Regions from separate parts of the Homo sapiens genome. Here all the other regions are linked to region 1. Evidence: promoter capture Hi-C in 16 types of primary human blood cells and fetal thymus (Javierre and others, 2016). All regions are on one chromosome and are shown on one strand. The core of a region is centred on a gene start or on the middle of the fragment in contact, and the rest is flanking DNA. Distances in the headings are between cores, read along the strand shown.

Evidence for each region. The method cuts DNA at HindIII sites, captures the fragments that hold promoters and counts their contacts. A CHiCAGO score of 5 or more calls a contact.
Region 2: the fragment with the promoter of GLI4 here is called in contact with a fragment that was not itself captured in region 1 in 1 of 17 cell types (neutrophils); the score reaches 5.3 in neutrophils.
Region 3: the fragment with the promoter of ZFP41 here is called in contact with a fragment that was not itself captured in region 1 in 4 of 17 cell types (naive B cells, total B cells, neutrophils and 1 more); the score reaches 9.1 in naive B cells.

Annotation. Positions count from the first base shown.
Region 1 is chr8:142,666,864-142,669,403 of GRCh38, reverse strand. All of the region lies in intron 1 of JRK (Jrk helix-turn-helix protein), which reads left to right. Among named protein-coding and RNA genes, the nearest start is that of JRK, 1.8 kb to the left of the region's middle. RefSeq lists an enhancer at 1,668-2,524. The HindIII fragment of the contact is 942 bases long and covers 791-1,732 here.
Region 2 is chr8:143,266,174-143,268,713 of GRCh38, reverse strand. It overlaps GLI4 (GLI family zinc finger 4), which reads right to left and starts at 1,269. Exons shown (of 4, transcript NM_138465.4): 1 at 1,230-1,269. RefSeq lists an enhancer at 1-253 and silencers at 814-933, 1,094-1,803. The HindIII fragment of the contact is 18,516 bases long and covers 1-2,540 here.
Region 3 is chr8:143,245,659-143,248,198 of GRCh38, reverse strand. ZFP41 (ZFP41 zinc finger protein) reads right to left here and starts at 1,260. Exons shown (of 3, transcript NM_173832.6): 1 at 1,057-1,260. RefSeq lists silencers at 826-875, 916-1,805, 2,006-2,165. The HindIII fragment of the contact is 20,601 bases long and covers 1-2,540 here.

The DNA.
Region 1 (2,540 bases), core at 12-2,511:
AGCGTGGAGGGCTCCTAGCGGAACTCGGCGCCGGCTCTCGGGCGCTCTCTGCGGGGCGCACGGCCCCAGGCTTTCTGTCCCCTCCTTCTCTGTCCCATACTCTCCTTCTGACCCCCAGCTCACCTCTTCCCCCAGCTCCAGAATGCGACTTGTTTTTTGAGTATTTCTCCTTCATATCCTCCATACCCCCCAACACACACACGCACACACACACACACACACACACACACACACACACACTATGCCCCTGCGAAGGTTGTTTCCCGCTTTCCCCCCGCGTTTCTCAGGGCCTCTTAGCCTCACACAGGACGGAGTCAGCCCCAGCGCTGGCCCCTCAGGCCTCCCGTTTCTTGTCTGTGCCTTGGGCACAGGAGAATTGCACGTTTCATCCCGTGTTCACGTGGCCTTGGGGATCAGTGCTTCCTCTCCAGTCGCAAGGCAAGAAACCACCCTAATTTCGGGGAGACAGGGAATCCCACAGTAGCTTGTGAGGGGCTGACTGGGGACTGGGATGCCGGGAAAAGCGTCCTGGAGGAGACTCAGCACCAGACACGGGCTCCTTGTGGACACGTCTCCATGCCTGACGTGCAGGTGTGGCAGGATGACACAAACTGGCAGAACACACTGTTGTCCCACTTGCAAGACCAAAAACTTCCTTTAAAAATAAAATTCAGATATTCCTTATGAAACAAGTTCAGCCACTTTGTGTCATCCTGCTACACCTGCATGTCAGGCATGGAGACGTGTCCGCGAGGAGCTGTGTCTGGTGTTGAGTCTCCTCCAGGAAGCTTTTCTCTGCATCCCAGTCCCCAGTTAGTCCCTCATAAGCTACTGTGGGATTCCGTGTCTCCCCCAGTTTTTCTACAGCGGGTTCATATTAAAAATCTGGAGGGTGGTTTGTGGCCTTGCCTTCCCTCCTGTTCCCCATGGTGAGATGCACATAGCTCACTGTGCTGTGCCAGACCGCACACACGTCACACCGTCACCCTCAGCGAACAATGCAGGATCCTTAAGGGACCAGCCCACATTTTGCAGACCAGGAAACTGACTCCGGAAGAGGACAGTACTCACCCAGAGGTGGCAGCCAACAAGCCTATAATTTTTCTTTGGAGCTTTTGCTGCATTTGATTGCACTCCTCCTTTCCCTTGAGCTCTGGCCTCAAAGGGCTGCGTTTCTGCGCTCCACATGTAAGTAGGCCTTTGGCCACACGCTCTGCATGGAGTTGGCAGAAGCAGCTATGGTAAGGACGCGGGAGGGAGGTGGGAACTCCAGGAGTCCATCCTCAAGTACTGCTGGCCTGCGGAGGAGTGAGGGCAGGGAGACCCCTGCCCATAGCACGCACGCCACACTGAGGCGGCCAGCTGAGCTGCCCGGTGTTTGGGCAAACAGCTTTTCAGCCCTCACCACCCTCAGCAGTGTCTTAACTGGGTGAAGTGCATTGCAGGCCCTGACTCCATAGGCTGCCCTGGCCTCACAGGGGTGCGCCCTCTGTGCCCTGCCAGTCGGCTCGGGTGTAGGGAGGGTTGTGGGGTGTTTCGCAGAGTTGTTATGAGAGGGTGAAATTGTCCACCTAGAAGGGATGAGAATGACCCGCATTGTCTTTATATAGGAGAAGGGTGAGAAGTTAGTTCAAAACTCCAACAGAAAGATGTGTTTGGTTAGAGCTGTGACATTTCTATGTCATTTTTCTTCCTATTGGTCAAAGGTGTGTGTGAAACTTAAAAGCAAGCTTTTCGTAGGGTGCACAGCTGGCCCAGGAAGAACCCTTGCTCCCAGGGGGCTATCAGGTTTCCTGGCATTTGCTTCTGGCGTAAATTAGTCATTTGTTCATAGAGCCTCCCAAATTAGCAAATGCTAAAGAAGTTCCTGCTCTGGGCTAGCTTGTTCCTGTGTCCTCTGAGCGTGTATGTGTGAGTGAGGTTGGGTGGCTGTGTGTGTGTGTGTGTGTGTGTGTGTGTGTGTGTGTGTGTCTCCGTGTCCGTCCATGTCTGGCAGGCTCTGCGGCCCTGCCGTGGTTGTGGAGCCAGGTGGGCGGGCAGCACTAGAGCCTGGGGTTTCAGAGACCAGCGGCTCAGTGTGGCTGCCTGGGGCAGGGTACCCTGAGCTGAGCTTGAGGGGTCCCCTCTGGAAGAGGCCTGGAATGGTCACAGCTGTCTGTCTGCTGCGGCTCCTTGTAGACGCATCTGAGTGTGTGGCAGTCAGGGAGGTCAGAGGGTGATTGAGAAACTGGCAGCACCTCCTAGCCCTTGGAGGAGCTTGAGGCCTGCTGTTCTAGAGAAACTTCTAATGCCTTGTTTTCTAGAGGCAGTTTGGCGCTCTGTGTCGGAGAGAGGAGTTTAGAGACCTGCTCCAGATGGGGTTTGTAAGATCTTTGGCGGGGAGGGTAGTGAGGAGTTCCTCCTCCCTGCATCCCTCCACCCCTGCCTCTGCTCCTCAGGGAGGAATAAGGGATTTGAGAAGCTCAGGTAGCCCAGCGAGCAGTTACAGCAAGAAGCTTAGGCTGGGCGGGTGGGAGGTTTGTTCTTGGGTCCGCCCAGCA
Region 2 (2,540 bases), core at 20-2,519, 600 kb before region 1:
TGGCATCACCCCTCCCCCAGAGAAAGGCATAGGGAGTCTTCCAGAAAAACCTCAGCTGCTGGCCCTGTGGGAGGGCTGAAAACCGAACCATGCCTGCTGCGCATGAGTGTTTTGGAGGAAATCTTAATAAGGTTTTTCCCGAACAGCAGAGAAGAGACGTTTCCAGAGGGCAACTCTCTTCCTCAGACCCTACAGAGCCCTCAGAGACTGCAGGCTGGAATCCCCTAGTCCAGCCCTGCAGCAGCACTGGGAGACTCACTCAGGGCTCCAAGACACTTCTTAGTTTACTTTGCAAAAACGGCTTGAGTCCAATGTGAAAAGTGACTTTTCTTTCATACTGTGATAGAGTAGGAACTCCTAATCTGGGGCAGGGAGTGAAGAAAGGAACGGGAAAAGAGGACAAAAGTTAACGGATACTCAGATCTAAGAACAGCAGACAGTGCCTGCTTCGAGGAAGTGGGAGAGGCAGCTCCCACACGGCCGCCACCCCAGTGCCCGGCTTCTGGGCCAGCCTCCATCCCCTAATGATGGGAAGGGTCAGGTCACCAGGTAGGTGGCCACTGGGTGCAGGTCCTCCACCCTGAAGTCACATCTCAAGTTACTTAGTTAACTTACTGGGGACACCTGGTAAAAGGGCCTGCTCGATCACCCCGACCCTGGCTTGGCCCCCAGGACTGAGCAGAGGCGACCATCACAGCGTGGACGCCCCTTCACCCCCAGGGACGCACAAACTCTGAGCTCCAGACTGAAGGGGGAAGGGCACTCCTGCCAGCGGCTCGGGGGAAGCATCCTCTGCCCCTCTGTTCCCAGCCCCGTGGGAGCGGACCCAATCGCCGGGAGCTCGGCACAGAGCGCGTCCGCCCGGCGGTGCGGCGCTGGGGTCCGGCGGCTCCTCGCTCCGGAGCGGCGGGACCTCCGGGCCTCAGTTTCCCATCTGCAGAGTGGCGATGACGACAGCTGCCGTCACTGGGTGCCTGGGAAAGGCGCCCTGCGAACGGACACCCGCTATCGCCAGGGCCGCTGGGCGGGGCGGTCCGCTGCTGCTCCGCGACCCCCAGGAGCCCACCCCGCTCCCCGGGCTTGGCCCAAGGCCAAGGTCACGGCGAGCGGCGGCTGCAAGGGCCGCACGGCCCGGCTGGGCAGGGCTGCACCGCGGAGTACGGCGCACGAGCTCGGACTGGGCTGGTCCCAGGCACCCGGAGCCGCCGCCGCCGCCCGCGCCCACTCACCTTCCGAGCGGGAGGAGGACGCCGCGCGCCGGACGGAAGTGTCCGGCCCCGCCCCACTCCGCCCGGCCGGCGCGCACTTCCGGGACGCTCTGGGCCCCGGGAGGACCGCACGCCTCGGTGGCCGTGTGGGGGCGGGGCCGGGAGCGAAGAGGAGGCCTTTCCCCGCCCCTCCCCTCGTGGGCTGCGCCCGCGCGTGGCTTTCGCGTACACGCTGGCCCGGATCCCGCCCGCGCCTGCAAAGCGCCCGGGCGCGGGGAGCGGCGCTGCGTGGGGCGCAGAAGCCGGCGCCTCGGAGCCTCCTTCCCGACGCCGGCCCTGCACCGCCCGGGGAGCCAGCGCGGGGCCGGGCTTCGGGAGATGACGGCGCCGTCCCCACGCTGCCCGCGGCCCCTCCGTGCACTCCAGGCCTCCGGGGGTCCTCGGCTGGAGTTGCTTCCACGTTCAGCTCGCGAGTCCCCCCCGCCGCCCTCTTGGGTTCCCTCCTCGGGATGTGTCCGCAGCGATGGTCACCGGCGGCCGGGAACCGCTGCGAGACGCGCGACCTCCCGCTCCCCTCGCGGGGGCCCCAGCGCCCTCGATTCTGCCTGCTTTCCAGGGGCGTCCCCGGGAGCCTGAGGAGGATGTTACAGGTTCCCCAAAGCCCCTTCATGGACTCCTTCCTCATTTTCCTCTTGTTCAGCCACAGTTTCTCCCTCAGTTCTGTGCTTACGACCTGAAAAGAGAAAATTGTCACTTTCTGGGAAAAATAAACGGCCGGGGAGGGTTCTTTGACCGTTTTGAGCAGGGGTGCAGAGAGCCGAGGCGAGGGGACCCCTGAGCTGGAGGGGCACGCGGAGCAGAGGGCGGGGGGGCCTGCAGACGGGCAACAGCTGCCAGGGTGGACGCTCAGGGCTGTGTGGGTGGAGGAGCCCCCAGGCTGATAATATGTAAAAATCTCTAAACTCTACCGCAAGAAAACAAACATTCCAGTTAGAAAATTGGCAAGAGCCGCAACAGACGTTTGACCGAAGAGGGCACAGGGATGGCAATAGGCTCGGGAAGGGATGGCTGTCAGGGAAGGGCCGGCCAGCATCGCGGTGGGTGCCACTGCACACTTGCCAGGTGGCTCAGGTAAAAACTGCTAACAAGTGCCAAGCATCACTGAGGTCGCGGAGCAGCTTGGGACATCGCCAGTGGTAAGGCAAAGTGGTGCTGCCATTCTAGAAATTGGCTTGGTAGTTTCTTAAAAAGTTATAAGTAGCGCCGGGCGCAGTGGCTCACGCCTGTAATCCCAGCACTTTGGGACACTGAAGTGGGTGGATCACCAGAGGT
Region 3 (2,540 bases), core at 11-2,510, 580 kb before region 1:
CCGGCAGAGACTGGAATGACTCACTTCTCTACACGCTGCCCACCCTGAGAAATAAAATATTTCTTAAAAGCAGAGTGGACTGGCCGGGCGCGGTGGCTCATGCCTGTAATCCCAGCACTTTGGGAGGCCGAGGTGGGCGGATCACGAGGTCAGGAGATCGAGACCATCCTGGCCAACATGGTGAAACCCTGTCCCTACCAAAACACAAAAAATTAGCTGGGCGTGGTGGCACGTGCCTGTAGTCCTAGCTACTCAGGAGGCTGAGGGAGGGGAATTGCCTGAACCCAGGAGATAGAAGTTGCAGTGAGCAAAGGTCGCGCCAGTGCACTCCTGCCTGGCGACAGAACAAGACTCCGTCTCAAACAAAAAAACCAAACCAAACCAAAACAAAAAACCCCACACGCAAAAAACAAAAACGGATTGGACCATAGCGATTTTCTTGGCCTCACCTCACAGGCCTGTAGACAGGAGTGATTAGCTAGTTACAAACAGCGCAACCCACGCTTGCCACACCCCTAAAGACTGGGGTTCTGGTTCTGTCGTGCAACTCCAGCGTAGCTCCGTCGCCTCTCTGGGCGGAGGACCCTTCACTTGTAATATGAAGCTCTGGGTATCCGTGGGCGGTAAGGGCTGCCTAGAAAACCTCACTCACCCTGGCGCCTCCCTCCACTACTTTCAGGGATCTGGGTCTCATGGAGAGACTGGAACATTAGTGGGCTTGAGATTCAGGGGCAATCTGCACTAAAACAGCCTGCTGGGTCCACGGCCTGCCAGGGGCCTGCTAGCTGTGCCAAGGCCTGAGATGCCAGGCATCTGAGCCAGGCGGAGGGGCCCGCCAGGGTCCCGTGCGTGCTCCTAGTTAGAGGCTCTCCTTTCAACGGCAGAGCCCCGCGGCCCACGTGCAGAGCTAGGTCGGCCTCGGGGCCGGCGCCCGGGAGGTGCTCAAAGCCGGGTCTTGCCACATCCCTGGAGCGCCGGGGTGCGGGGAGGCGGCGGGGCCCATACCGACGCTGCGCGTCCTGGGCCGGAGGCGGCAGGCAGGAGCCCAGTGAGTACCTGGCTGGAGACGAGAGGCGACGAGGACCTCCCGCTGCAGAGCGCGGACGCGCCCGGGCCCTACCAGGACTGCTGGAGGGCGGGGAGAGGCGCGCGCCCCTCGCGGGGGCCGGAGGCAGGAAAGGAGAGCCCTAGATGCGGGACCCCCCAACAGCTCCCCACCAGTGCCAGCGTCCCCGTCGGCCCTAGGCACCGGCAGGAAATGCCCGCCCGCTGACCCGCCCCTTCCGGCGGCCGCGCTAGGAGCCTGGGCCGGACTCGGTGATGGTGGGCGGTGGAGGGCTCGGCCCGAGCGGCTCCATCCCCAGCCGACTCCGCCCCCGAAGACCCCGCCCCGATCAGGCCCCGCCCCCTCAGGCTTCACCCATAACTGCCGCCACGCCCGCAGGGTCCTCCCCGAGCTGACCCCGCCCCTTTACAGTCGTCTATGGCAGGCGCCCTCCCGAAGGCTCCCCCGAAATCAGGTCCCTCCCCGAGCGGGCCCCGCCTCCGAAAGCTCCTTCCCGAGCCGGCTTCCCCTCATGCCCCGCCCCCTCAGGCTCCGCCCTCGTGTCCCGCCCCCGAAAGTTCCTCCCCAGCCACCTCCCCACATGCTCCGCCCCCAGGCTCCGCCCCATGTCCCGCCCCCAAAAAGCCCCGCCCCGAACCGGCACCCTCATGCCCCGCCCCCAGCGGCCCCGCCCCGCAAGGCCCAGTCCCCAGCAGCTCGGTCCCGAGCCGACCCTGTCACGTAGGCTGCGCCCACCAGACTCTCCGGATCCGACGCGCGTGGGCTCCTGGCTCCAGACCCCCAACGGGGAGGTCGCGGCCGCGTGCTGGGAGACTTGTCCCTGAGGACGCTCCCCGCCAACCCCCAGCCCCCGCCGACCCCCAGCTCCCGCCTCCGCCGACCCCCAGCCCCCGCCTCCGCGGCGCCCACGGCTTGCCTCCACGGGAAGTCGCTGTCTCCGCCTTCAGCGCGGAAGGAGAACCGACGCCTCTCCAGGCCGCGGGCCCCTAGCTAGGCGGGCAACGCCTCCACCGCCGCCGCCACCGCGTGCGCGCCCTGGCGAGCCGTCCCCCACCACGTGGCCCCTGCCGCTCCTCCCGCCGCAGGCAGCCCCTCCGGGATGTGCTCCCAGCCGCTGGCTGTGCTCACTCCACTTCCTGCCTGCCCAGATCGCACTGAGCCGCCAGGCCCGCCAGAGCCCCGCGTGTTAGTTCCCTACGTACCGCAAATTGGGTGTCCTAAAACGACATCCGCCTATTATCTCAAGGCTTCTGTGGGCCAGAAGGCCAGGCTTAGCTGGGTCCTCAGCTCTGGTCAGCCGCTGTGTTCTCATCTGGGGGCTGGACTGGGGAAGGATCACTTCCCACCTCATGCGATTGCTGGCAGAAGTCATGTCCTGGTGCCTGTAGGACTGAGGGCCGGCAGGAGCTGCTCTCAGCTCCCGGGGGCTGCCTGCCAGTCCCTACTGTGGGAGGGTGGGCGGTTCACAGGGTGG